2 separate regions of the Homo sapiens genome follow, and region 1 is linked to region 2. The links are contacts of gene promoters, found by promoter capture Hi-C in blood cells and fetal thymus (Javierre and others, 2016). All regions are on one chromosome and are shown on one strand. Each heading gives the region's core, a stretch centred on a gene start or on the middle of the fragment in contact. The rest is flanking DNA. Distances are from core to core; before and after follow the strand shown. Region 1 overlaps MAGI1 (membrane associated guanylate kinase, WW and PDZ domain containing 1). Region 2 holds the start of ADAMTS9-AS1 (ADAMTS9 antisense RNA 1).

Evidence for each region. The method cuts DNA at HindIII sites, captures the fragments that hold promoters and counts their contacts. A CHiCAGO score of 5 or more calls a contact.
Region 1: a contact is called between a fragment that was not itself captured here and the fragment with the promoter of ADAMTS9-AS1 in region 2, in 1 of 17 cell types (erythroblasts). The highest score is 5.4, in erythroblasts.

Annotation. Positions count from the first base shown.
Region 1 is chr3:65,707,121-65,713,435 of GRCh38, reverse strand. All of the region lies in intron 1 of MAGI1 (membrane associated guanylate kinase, WW and PDZ domain containing 1), which reads left to right. Among named protein-coding and RNA genes, the nearest start is that of MAGI1-AS1, 180 kb to the left of the region's middle. The HindIII fragment of the contact is 172 bases long and covers 3,232-3,403 here.
Region 2 is chr3:64,557,941-64,563,645 of GRCh38, reverse strand. It overlaps ADAMTS9-AS1 (ADAMTS9 antisense RNA 1), which reads right to left and starts at 2,300. Exons shown (of 2, transcript NR_110151.1): 1 at 1,878-2,300. It overlaps ADAMTS9 (ADAM metallopeptidase with thrombospondin type 1 motif 9), which reads left to right. Exons shown (of 40, transcript NM_182920.2): 30 at 1,895-2,068. The HindIII fragment of the contact is 2,192 bases long and covers 946-3,137 here.

The DNA of each region.
Region 1 (6,315 bases), core at 2,068-4,567, 1.1 Mb before region 2:
AATCTCTCTTGCAGCTTGATAGGGGGAAAACAATGGTTACCTCCCAGAATCTGAAAGAACCATTTTTACTCAAATACAAGGCTCTCTTTCCAGAGCTCCCTGTGGGTGACAGCATGGAGGGTTTGACCAAGAATGTTGAGTTTCTTCCCGGGCTAGTTTCCATGGTGATGGCTGCAGCTTTGCTAAGGCTGGTATGGCAGGGAGAGGAAGCAGAAGACAGGGTGATGTTGCATCACTCAAGCAACCAGAATGTTTTATGCCCACAAACAGCAGGGCCTGCTGCAAATGCCAATGAACAGAAACTGGCTCAGGAGTAGAAGGAATGGGGCCTGGAAAGCTATTCTCTCTCTAGGACTTTCTGTCTTTACTGCATTTTGAAAGCTTAGGCTGTATTTAGGGTCAAAACTGAACAGTAAGATTCCTTTCCTAGCTATGAGCTTCCTGAATGAATATTTAATTGGAGAGCCTACCAGTGAGAGAATAAAGGTAGAGTGATGGTCACTTGCTGAGATTTGCAGAGACATCCCAAAGCATTTAGGGGCAGCATTTGTAGAAAATTCCTAGAAAGTGTTTTATTGAGCAACTATTTATAGAATGCTATTTAGGTCATTTGTTGCTGCATAGCAAATCACCCCAAAACATAGTGACTTGAAACAATTTCTTTGGGAGACCGAGGTGGGTGGATTACTTGAGGCCAGGAGTTTGAGACCAGCCTGGCCAACATGGTGAAACCTCGTCTCTACTAAAAATACAAAAATTAGCTAGGTGTGGTGGTGTGTGCCTGTAGTCCCGGCCACTCAGGAGACTGAGGCATGAGACTTGTTTCAACTTGGGGGCAGAGGTTGTAGTGAGCTGAGATCACGCTGCTGCACTCCAACCTGAGTGACGGAGTGAAACTCTGTCTCAACAACAACAACAACAACAAAAACAAAAACAAAACACAATTTTATTATCGCGCATGGCTTTTTTTTTTTTTTTTTCTTGCTTGGGGTCTCTCGTGGTTGCAGCCAGATGGTAGCTGCAGCTGGATTCATCTGGAAGGATTCCTGACTCACATGTCTGGCAGTTGTTGCTGGCATTGTTTGGGACTGACAGTGAGGACCATCAGCCAGAACCTACACATGGCCTCCCTGTGCGGCTCAGTTTCCTCAGAGCATGGTGGGTGGGCGCCAAGACTGAGTATCTAAGAGAGAGGAACTGGAATTCTCTTAACCCTTTGACCTGGAAACTGTCAAAAATCACTTCTGTCATATTCTGTGGGTCAAGTCTAAGAGCCCAAATTAAAGAGAAGGGCACATGGACCCTACCTTTCAATGGGAGGAGTGTAACAGAATTTTTAGGTTGTGTTTTTAAACCATCACAAGAGCCAACCATTTGCTAGGCACTTTGGAGAAACACCCTCTCTTTCTGTCCTCATGAAGTTTATAGCCTGGGAGATAGATATCAATCCAAAATCACAAGAATAAAAGATAAATTGCAATATGGTAAGGGTTCTGAAGGAGATATGATCAGAGAGTCTACAATATGGGGATTGTATTAATTTGCCGAGGCTGCCATAACAAGGTATCACAGACCAGGTGGCTTGAACGATGGACTTTGTTTTCTCTCAGTTCTGGAGGCTAGAAGTCCCAGATCAAGGTGTTAGTAGGTTTGGTTTCTTCTGAGACCTTGCTCCTTGGCTGCCAGACTCCTGCTGTTATCCCTCTGTGTCCTCACCTGGTCTTTCTGCTGGATACATGCTCATTCTTGTCCTAACCTCCTCTTTTTCTCAGGACACCAATTGTATTGGATTAGGCGCACCCATATGACCTCATTTTGCCTTAATAACCTCTTTAAAGGGCCTATGTAAATACATTCACATTCTGAGGTACTGAGGATTAGGATTTTAGCAGATGAATTTTGGGGGGACAAAACTAAGCTCATAGCAGGGAATTGCCTAAAGATTTTTTTGTGTTTTTTTTGTCTGTAGGTATTTCTTGTTATGGATATAAACTCAAATTTTGGAGTTTTGAATTATCTGTTTTTAGAGATTGTTTATCTAAAACCTTTTTACATTTGAATAAAACGTTTATGTGGTTCCAAAGTAAAATCTGAAGCCTGTTCAAAGAAATCTGGCTTCCAAACTTCAACCTCATTTCCTCTGAATGTCCTTCTCTATTTGACCTTGGTATAATACAGTTCATAGTAATTGTTTCTTACTAGTAATTATTTCAACCCTTCTAGACTGCAAGCTTCATGAAGGCAGAAACTTTTATTCTCTTGTTCATAGCATCATCCACAAAAAATCTAACACTGTACCTAGAACACACTTGGTGTTTGGTGACTAGTTGTTGAATGGACATGTGGCATTGGAGTTTAAGGTGTAGACTGGAACCAGTAGGTTTGGGAATTGTCTTCATTGTCTTCATAGAGGCTATGAAAATGGATGAGACCCATCTAGTGGGATGAGTTACAAAAAGAAAAGGCAAACAGTTGAAGGTCTATATTTAGGGGACAGAACAAGGACGGTAAGCAGAGAGAAAAAAGGAACAGTTGGAGAAATGGTAGGAAAGTGGGAGAAAGTCTGTATCAATGGGCATTGGGAAAGCATATATTTAAAACGGACTCCTTAGTCAAGAAGGGCATGGTTGAAAAGTGCTGAACTGGACACTGGAAGACATTGGTTCAAGTTTTGCTTCTACCTTGATTTGTTGTGTGACCTTGGGCAAATTAGTCTCTGAAAATCAGTTTCTTCACGTGTGGAATGAGAATCACTGTATCTATCTGCATTGTCTACCTCGTAGGGTATATGAGCTTCAAGAGATAATAGTGTTAACTCAAATCTAGAAACTTCTTAGTGCTTTAGAAATGTAAGGTTAAGGCTGGGCACGGTGGCTCACGCCTGTAATCCCAGCACTTTGGGAGGCCGAGGTGGGTGGATCACCTGAGGTCAGGAGTTCGAGACCAGCCTCAATATGGAGAAACCCCATCTCTACTAAAAATACAAAATTAGCCGGGCATGGTGGTGCATGCCTGTAATCCCAGCTACTCAGGAGGCTGAGGCAGGAGAATTGCTTGAACCTGGGAGGCGGAGGTTGTGGTGAGCCAAGGTCGCGCCATTGCACTCCAGCCTGGGCAACAAGGGCAAAACTCTGTCTCAAAAAAAAAAAAAAAAAAAAAAAAAAAAGAAATGTAAGGTTAATAAGTGATTCACCAAGTAAAGACATCTTCTAAACTTACCTAGTTTAAGCTTGCCTTTTCACTGATCGCTTGTCTGCCTTCTATTTTGCCTTATTATAGTATTTTGCTTTTTAAAACCATTCCTTTAAAAAAAGGCTTGTGAAATCTTGGGGAGTAACCTCTTAACATACTTTCTCTAACAACAAGGTAGTCTACAAAAGACAACTTTCAGAAGTCAAAAGCTTGGGCTTTATGTGGCACATTTCACTATTTGCTCACCAAGTCAGCTTTTTGGAGAAGCTTTGATTGTAAGGTCACTGGTTTGGGATGCAGTGTTTCTCATAACTTAATTCACACCAGATACTTCTAGGCAAGAGAGTATCAATCATGATTTGATTTACACCAGTTATGGTTTATGTTTCAATTAATGTAGAGGCTAGTTCTGTACGTCAATTAGAGCTACTAAAATTCTTTTCAAATTGCTTGACAAAAACATATCTTCAAGTTTTAATCTGTCAAATGCAACGTGAAAACGTGAAATGAGCACTCTTCTCATATTCAGATGAAGGTGGCAAAATTGGGTGTCAATGTGCTTAAAGACATCTCTAATGGATAAGTTATGGAAAGGCTGATCCGAAGTGCATCTGGTCTTGCTAGAAGCTCATGTTGGCAAAGAAAAGCCGTAAGACTACTGACGTTTCCTGTTGTCTCTAATTTGGTATCTTTGCTTTCCCAAAACTCACCCATGATGTTCCTAAAAGAGGTTTAAATATTTTATCCTCCAATCTTGCTCTATTCAGTGGCTCTTAAAGATGAAGAGAGACCTCAGATGTATTAATAGAGGTAGGTGAGTCAACTCACTTTTAATGACAGAGACTTGACAAAAGACAGCTTCAAAGATACCTGTTCTTAAAACTTTTGAAGGCTCTGTAATCCAGTGTGCTAAGCATTGGACTGGAAAAAAAAGAGATAGCAGGTTTTCATTTCTGGCATGCCACTGACTGCCCTTGCTTTGGAGATTGGTATAAGAAATGTGTTGAGCTGCATATTTTCTCGTTGCCCCTTTTCATTACTTGGAAAAAACCAAGCGAGAATGATGTGAATGCTGAGCACATTTCTGTCACCAAAAGAGAACGGCCATGTAGTGTATATACATATTCATGTTTACTTGAAAATCACTGGCTAACTTTAAGCATAATTTCTGTTATGCCAAAGCCCAGATGTGCAGGCTTGTCCCTCTTCTGAGGTCCAGGTAAATTAGAACCCTTATAAAACCTCTGTTAACCTTTATAAAACCTCAGTTTGCCCCTCTAAGGCCACAGAATTTGTGAGGCATTGGGAGATGGGTGATAGAGTTGGAAATTACTCCTTCCTGCTTGGGTGGATTTACCGTTTCTCCTTTCTCCTCATGTTCATCACCTACCCAGGTATCCTGGAATTTGGTGAAGAAGAAAAAGAAGAAAGAAGGGAAGGGTTGATTGAGAAGAATGGCAGTCTGTCTGGAAGCCACCAGAAGAGATATAATGCTAGCTCTTGTCTGTTCTTTCTCTGTCCTTCCCCCGTTTTCTTTCTCTCTTCTTTCTTCTTTTGCTTTTTACTCTCTTGCCATCATTCTCCTCTTCTTCCCTCCCTTCCTTTTTTCTCACTTTTTCATCCTTCCTTTTTTCTTTCCTCCCCACCACCAATGACCGATTTGCCCACCTGACTGCCCCCAAGCCTTAACTAGAAGAAATAATTGAGCACTTTCTCCCCAAATTCAAGTTTCAAAAGAAAGAGATGTTCTGAGTTAAGTGAGGCAGTGGCATCTCCCAGTCCGTCTCTGCTTCTTCGTCTCTGAGGGGTCTGTCACCTCTATCAGTGAAGCAAGCACCTGGCTGCTCCTCTGAGCCTGTTCTGTCTCTCTTCCTCAGGCACAGAAGAGCTTCTCACTGGTAATTACAAGAGGACAGAGGATACTTATCCCAATGAAAGCTAACCTTCCTCTTCTTTTGGCGTTTACTACCATCTCTTTATTCTTTTAACAATTCATTTCCATATTTAAATGCCATTGATTTCTTTAAAAGGGGGGAAAAGCCAGGTTGGGTCCTATCTGTAAATCATTGTCCTGTCTTGAACCTCAGGTAAGAGAGGCATTGGCTTTGTCAGGTTGATTCTAAAGATTATTTTTCAACTCCAGGAAGTGGGTTACATTTATAGGGGTGATTATTTTGGTAAATAGGACATATGTAGAACTATGTCCAATTCCATACTTTTTGATGGTGAGATGCTTTTAAAGTGTGTAGACATTGATACCTTATCCAATATTACCTCATTCTTTCTATGTGCCAGTTTTATATTCTTCACACAGTTACAGCCGCAGGTTGGATTGGCATGGCCATGACTTTGGATTTTTAGCGACCTCCTAATTTTATTGGCTTGCTTTCCTCTCTGGTTCAGCTATCAATATAGTTTAAAGGTTTTACTGAGAAAGAAGCTTGAGAGGGTGTGTAAAATCCATAGTTGGTGAAATATCTTTTTATCTTTGTGGCTTAATAATTATCTTTTCTCCAGGGATTCTTTTGCCAACTTTTTTTTTTTTTTTTTTTTTGAGATAGGGTATCACTCTGTCACCCAGTTTGCCGTGCAGTGACCCCATCATGGTTCACTGTAGCTTCAACCTCTCAGGTTTAAGCAGTCCTCCCACCTCAGCCTCCCAAGTAGCTGGGCCTACAGGCACGCACAACCATGCCTGACTATTTAAAAAATTTTTTTTGTTAGAGAGACAGTGTCTCACTGTGTTGCCCAGGATGGTCTCAAACTCCTGGGCTCAAACAATCACCTGGCTCGGCCTCCCAAAGTGCTGGGATAGGGAGCCGCTGTGGCTCAGGCCGGTTGCCCTGGCACTCGGGGAGGCGAGGCTGCACGTCCAAAGTGCTGGGATTACAGGTGTGAGCCACTGTGCTCTTTTGCCATCTCAATTGCATGGTTTGATTCTTGACAAAGTGCTTCTATGTGGCATAGCATCAACCCTGAAACATATCAGTCATTAAATATTTAATTTGGAAGTGTGAAATGGCAGGTTCACTTTTTAGATTACACATTAGAGCCCTGCCAATCAGCACTGAAGGAAAGTTGCCTACATCTAAGGTTTGGTCAGACTTTGGGAATAGAAGTTTA
Region 2 (5,705 bases), core at 1,051-3,550:
AGTGATTTTTTAAATGTTGGATACTTATGGCTCTTAGTACCGTGCCTTCGTTGAACCATAAGTAATTTTTTCAATTACAATAGCTTCAAAAAGAGGTTTCATTTATTTAGTAGCCTGAATAGTCTTATACATTCTAAAAGTCTTTAAATATGTTTTCATTTTTCTTTAGGTTATTAAAACATTATGAGATTCTGCATATAGTTGAGTCCTATACCAAACTCAAATTTGTTTACAATATTCTTTCTGTATTTGTATTTGGATATATTGTTCCAGAAACGTGCTCTTTTATATTTAAGACCCCAAATTGAAATAGTCAAAAGACTTTTTGGTTGTTGTTTATTGATGATGATAATATTTGAACATGTCCATCATTTATGGGGTAACTCTATCATGTTACAGTACATTCTTTTCCAGTGTAATCAATGGGAAATATTATTCATGTAGCTCTAATGAGCATTAAATGGCCATTCTCTATAGATAGGGTCATCACTTGTGTTCAGGAATCCTCCCATTACACCCAGGACATAATGACTTTAAAAGTCTGGTTTCTTGTGGGTCACAAACTCATTCAATCCAATTAATACAATTGAGCCCAAACAATAGTAGCTATGTTGATCCAAAATATTTTCTTCTGTTCAGCTAGCTTTGATGTGAACATATGGTTCTCCTCTCTGGCATAGATTTATCTGAAACAGTATGATTTCTCAAGTTACCTTCTAAATATCGTTACCTGTTTTCTTAAAATCTGAAATGGAGAGAAAATTACCATTCAGCAGAATACATTTGGGTGTGATTCTTGATAGTAAATTTCCATTAATAGTCTCAAAGAAAGTTGAATGTTGCTACAGGTTAATTGGAAAATAATTTTTTCAAGTTTGAAAGGTCATGATTCTATTATTTAAGAAGACTTCCTCTTAGGAATATGGCTTTAATGTATGTTAAGCTTATTTTCTCAACACCAGACCAAAAAATGGAGGCTGAGCTATCACAAAAATTTGGAAATAATTTTTAATAGCTAAGTGTAATAATATACCATTCTTTCCAAATGTTGCCTTTAGTTTCTGGCTGTCAAAACCTTAATCAAGACAATAATTCTTGGCCTGGCCATAAGTGAGATTATGAAACCCAGCAATGAGGAAACCATTAAAAAATTAATTTAGAGGAAAGTTAATTGCAGATTTAATATGGTGTTTTGCAAGTTGGTCAGCAAAATGTTTCAACATGATTAACAATATTTTTCAAGGGCTGAAAACATTAAGCCCGAGGAAATGGTTTTTCCTGTCAGCTTTTATTCTTCATATATTCATCTGAGGTTGTAAATAGACACAAATTCTTTAGTGAATTCTGTGGTTAAAAAAATATCGCCTTATCTCCATGAATAGGAGCAAGAAAAGGAAGAGACTGGAGAAAATAATTCTACTTATAAAGTCCTAAAATCTTCAGTGGTTTACTTCTCCTTGGGTTATATTTTTAATCTGCCAAGAAATTCTTCTTGTACAACACTGTCTCTCCAGTTTTCATGAGTCTCAAATCCTCCAGGATAGAAATCATTTCAAGTTTTCATTTCTCATGGCAGCACTATTTCCAGGTTGTGCTAAATGATTCATAATGATTTTTATTAACCTCTTCAATCCTCTAAGAATTACATTAACTTGAGGGATTCCTCCAAACTTGAGCACCTTCCTCACTCTCCAGCGTGGATAAGATAAGCAGTGAGTTTCCAGGTTTAAGACATGATCTAGGATCCCTTTCATTGCAAATTAGAAAGCGATGTGATAGCTATGAAAGTCATTGGATTAGGAGTGCATTCCCCTCCTCTGTGACCCTCGACACCCCCCGCCCCCCCAAAAAATAAATGAGCCGAAGCTCCCACTTACGTTCTCTGTCTTCTTAGTGCTCTGTGTCCTGTGGCCGAGGCGTACAGCAGAGGCATGTGGGCTGTCAGATCGGAACACACAAAATAGCCAGAGAGACCGAGTGCAACCCATACACCAGACCGGAGTCGGAACGCGACTGCCAAGGCCCACGGTGTCCCCTCTACACTTGGAGGGCAGAGGAATGGCAAGAAGTAAGTAGAGCCACAAAGGGGTACCTGCCAGGCATTTCACGTGTGCGCCCCTTGCTATCCTCACATCTGTTCCCTATAAAGCCAGAGAAGTCACCGAGCACGGTTACAATGCTGGCTCTTTCCCAAAAGGTTCACTGTCAGACTCGCGCATTCGCTCCAACAAGGGTGGGAGAACTTCTTGTTTTTAAGCAATTCCTACGTCTGTCTGTATTCCTGAGTGTTCCAAGTCTGGCCGCCTCAAAAAAAAAAAAAAAAACTTTAACAGGCTGTGGGCCGAATGCATTCAGATATCTTTCACAGAAGGAGGGGGAGATAGAAGGAATATTTTAAATACGTGTCTCCAGATTTGGTCATTCTGTATCTGTTTAAATAGCCGCAGGGCAGACTTTAGGTAGAACCTACTCTGTATTTTTCCTCTTTCTATGACTTTGGCTGTCAGGTAGAAGATAGGCATTCATGTGAAACCTTGATTAATTAGTGAAAGATTTCTAACATTTAAAAAAAAAAAAAAAGGATGGTATCTGAAGAAACTGCTCCGTTGATGGTCCGTGCAGAAGTGGACAGGCCTTGCTTTTTCCCTGGCTTCAAGTTAATGTTTGGTTAAGGAAAACATTGTGTCCATGGGGAAAAGTTTGGCCAGGGAGGTTTTATAGGAGGTAACCTCTGTTTCCAGAACAGAAGATTAAACTGTAGAAAAGGGGGGGAAAGAATTAGAAAGCAAAACAATATCCACTGATGTTGGCATAAAAAACAAAATGCATGCTGCTTGAGGTGCAGAGATAATGAAAAATAAGGCAGGAAATTCCCCACCATGAAGAGTTTTTCAGAACATAAAGAAAGGGTATGGTTTGGAGAACAGTTAGACTGTACCCCTGGCACTGTGCTGGGTACTTTTTGTTCATTGCTTCCCTTAATCTTTTTAACCACCAGACAAGGTGAGCATTATTATTATTATCATCATCCCATTTTGCAGGTGAAAAAACTGAGGTTCACAGAATCTGTGTCATTTGTCCAAGTGTCACATACCTAGCACCTAGCAAGTGGAAGAAGCAAGACTTCATGCTAAGCTTGTTCTCTTAAACCATTAAGAAATACTAGAACTGCATTCTTTACCCCATTGGGATTCAGCCGCCCAGCCCTGTCTTCCTCTTCCCTCGCCTCCTCATGGATTACTTCCATTGGTTGCAGTAATTTCTTTTCTTTAGGAAACTCACCCTCTCCATCTACTCAGTCTTTTTCCTGTTTTCCTTCTTTACTTTTTTATTCCCACCAGACAGTGGCAGGGAGGAATGCCTAAAGCAGTTACATTTCAGATTAACAGCTCTTGAGCCACACCAGTTATTTGGAACCCTAGAGACTATAAAATTCTACAGACTTGGTTCATATCCTAGCACTGCCACACATTAGCCAAGGGAATTAGAACAAGGATTCTTGATTTCTCTGAGCCTTGGATTATCCATTTGTAGAATGGGGATAAAATAACTTTTCAGAGTTGTTCTGAGAAAACTGGAGGTAATAGTGTTATCTATTATGGTTTGGGGATTGGCAACGTCAGATATAGAAGGAAGAGGAGACTCCCTCATCTCTCTCGCTCTCCCCCTCAGTGTGACCTCTTGATTCTCTTTTTTTCAGACCTACCATGGCCTGCTCTCTCCATCTCCCTCTTTGTGTCACGCTAAACTCAACCCTGCTCCGAGGAGCGGAAAGTAAGAGAGTGTTCAGAAATGAATCTAAGCTGACTGCTTGTGCTTTAGCCAGCTTTTGAAAATGCTAGAGCCAATCACGAAAATGCACACTCTGTTTACAATTCCTTTTGCATCCCGAAGAATGGAAAAACCTTGCCACATATGCACTGAGGAAATTCCTCTTCTCTGATCATGCACAATATGCCTAAAATTTACTTCTTTGCATGTGTCGTGCAGATGGATCTTTTTTAAACCTTACTCAAATATTCCTGTTAAACTCTGTGGAAGAATAGACGGCTTCAGGAGATAACCTGGCCTGGGCCTCTATTTAAGAAGCTTACTAGAGGGTTGCCATTCTCACAAAGAGAAAAGACTCTGTGAGTAACAGGAAAAGCAGAGTCTAATAGTCACCCTCCTGGGAACACGCTTTCTCATCTGCCTTCACCCAAAGTGGAGGGTCTAAGGAAGGAATACTGGGGTGGTGAAAGTGGACGGAATATCATAGGAGTATCTCCTATGATATTCCTATGGTATTCTACAGGAGGCCTCTCATTGGCAGAGTGAGGCCCAGGGCAGCTGGAGGTGGGGAGAAGCCCCACCAAAAGTCTTCATGTTTCCCATACATGCAAGGCCTGCTGACAGCCTGCTCAGAATGTCCCCAAAGCAGCAAGACTGAGCGTGAAGGACGACAGTAACTGGGCAATTACCTTAATTGATCAAATCAGGAAAAGGGTGGCCACGCCTCCTGTTTGCCTGGGGTAGTCCTCATGTAATTATTAATTCTTCCTACTTTTATGATCAAAAGCGCCCTTGTTCAACAGTAAACTGGGTGGTCACTTGATAAGACAGAACCCTTCAGGCTCCCCTAAATCACAGCCCTCACCTCCGATCTTGCTGCCACCGCCTCTCACATCCATTCTTTCAGCCACCGTTTTACCTGATATCCACTGATGCAGGCACACGTTTCCACTTTTCTCCCACACCTAGTGACGTCTTGACCTGAGGTCAGAGAGTGTGCCACAGGGCAGCCTCTCAGCCCACTGAATGGGATGTGCAGGAGCCCCCCATTATAGGATACCCCTTCTTTCTTAGCGGTCCCTGGCCACCACCTCAGAACTCTTGTTTGCTTGAGTATGCACTTTGCCTTTTGCTTCCCCTTTTAATAGTCCCCTATGTGGACTATTAAAACCCACCAGTTTGTTGGCAAGGTGTATTGCATGCTTGGTCCGTAGGATATGGCACCATCCTCTTTTTGAGAAATAATCCAAGCATCTGCCTAGAGAAGCACAGTTTCTGCACCCTCACCATGGCCATGGTCATCAGGGATGTTCTGTACAGCCACACAGGTTGTATACTGCACAACTTTGAGGGATGCCATTTTTATACAATGTGAGGAGCGTCCCCTAGAGTTGTATAGTACAATGGCCCTAATACTGAAGATAATAAAAATAATAAAGCTTATTGTTTACTAAGCTACAAACTAGGCACTATGTTGAGTATTTTCACATGAAGTGCTTCATTTAGCCCTTTCCATAACTCTCTGATGTAGTATTTATATTTTTATCCTCATTTAATAGGGGCAACTTGCGGCTTAGGTAGGTTAATTTATCAATGATCATGCATTTAGTAAATAATATGGCTGGAATTTGAAGCCCGGAAGCTTGCACGCTGGCACCTACACTCTGAATCATTATCTTCACTAATCCGATGCCAAATACACCTAAAGTGAATTATTTTATTTTCCTCTCAATGATTTGCCAAGCCTCTTACTGGAGAGTTGCTATCAAAGTGTATTCCCTTTACTGGGTTGTAACACCTACCCCTTCTAAAAAGGAGATTCTTGATCTAGTTAGCTATCAGACTTTAAGCCATGTCACCAGGCGAGTCTTGATGATGTTGGAGCCCCTCAGTGGACTTCCTGTTCATTGTGAAGCCCATTGGTTGTTCAGGGG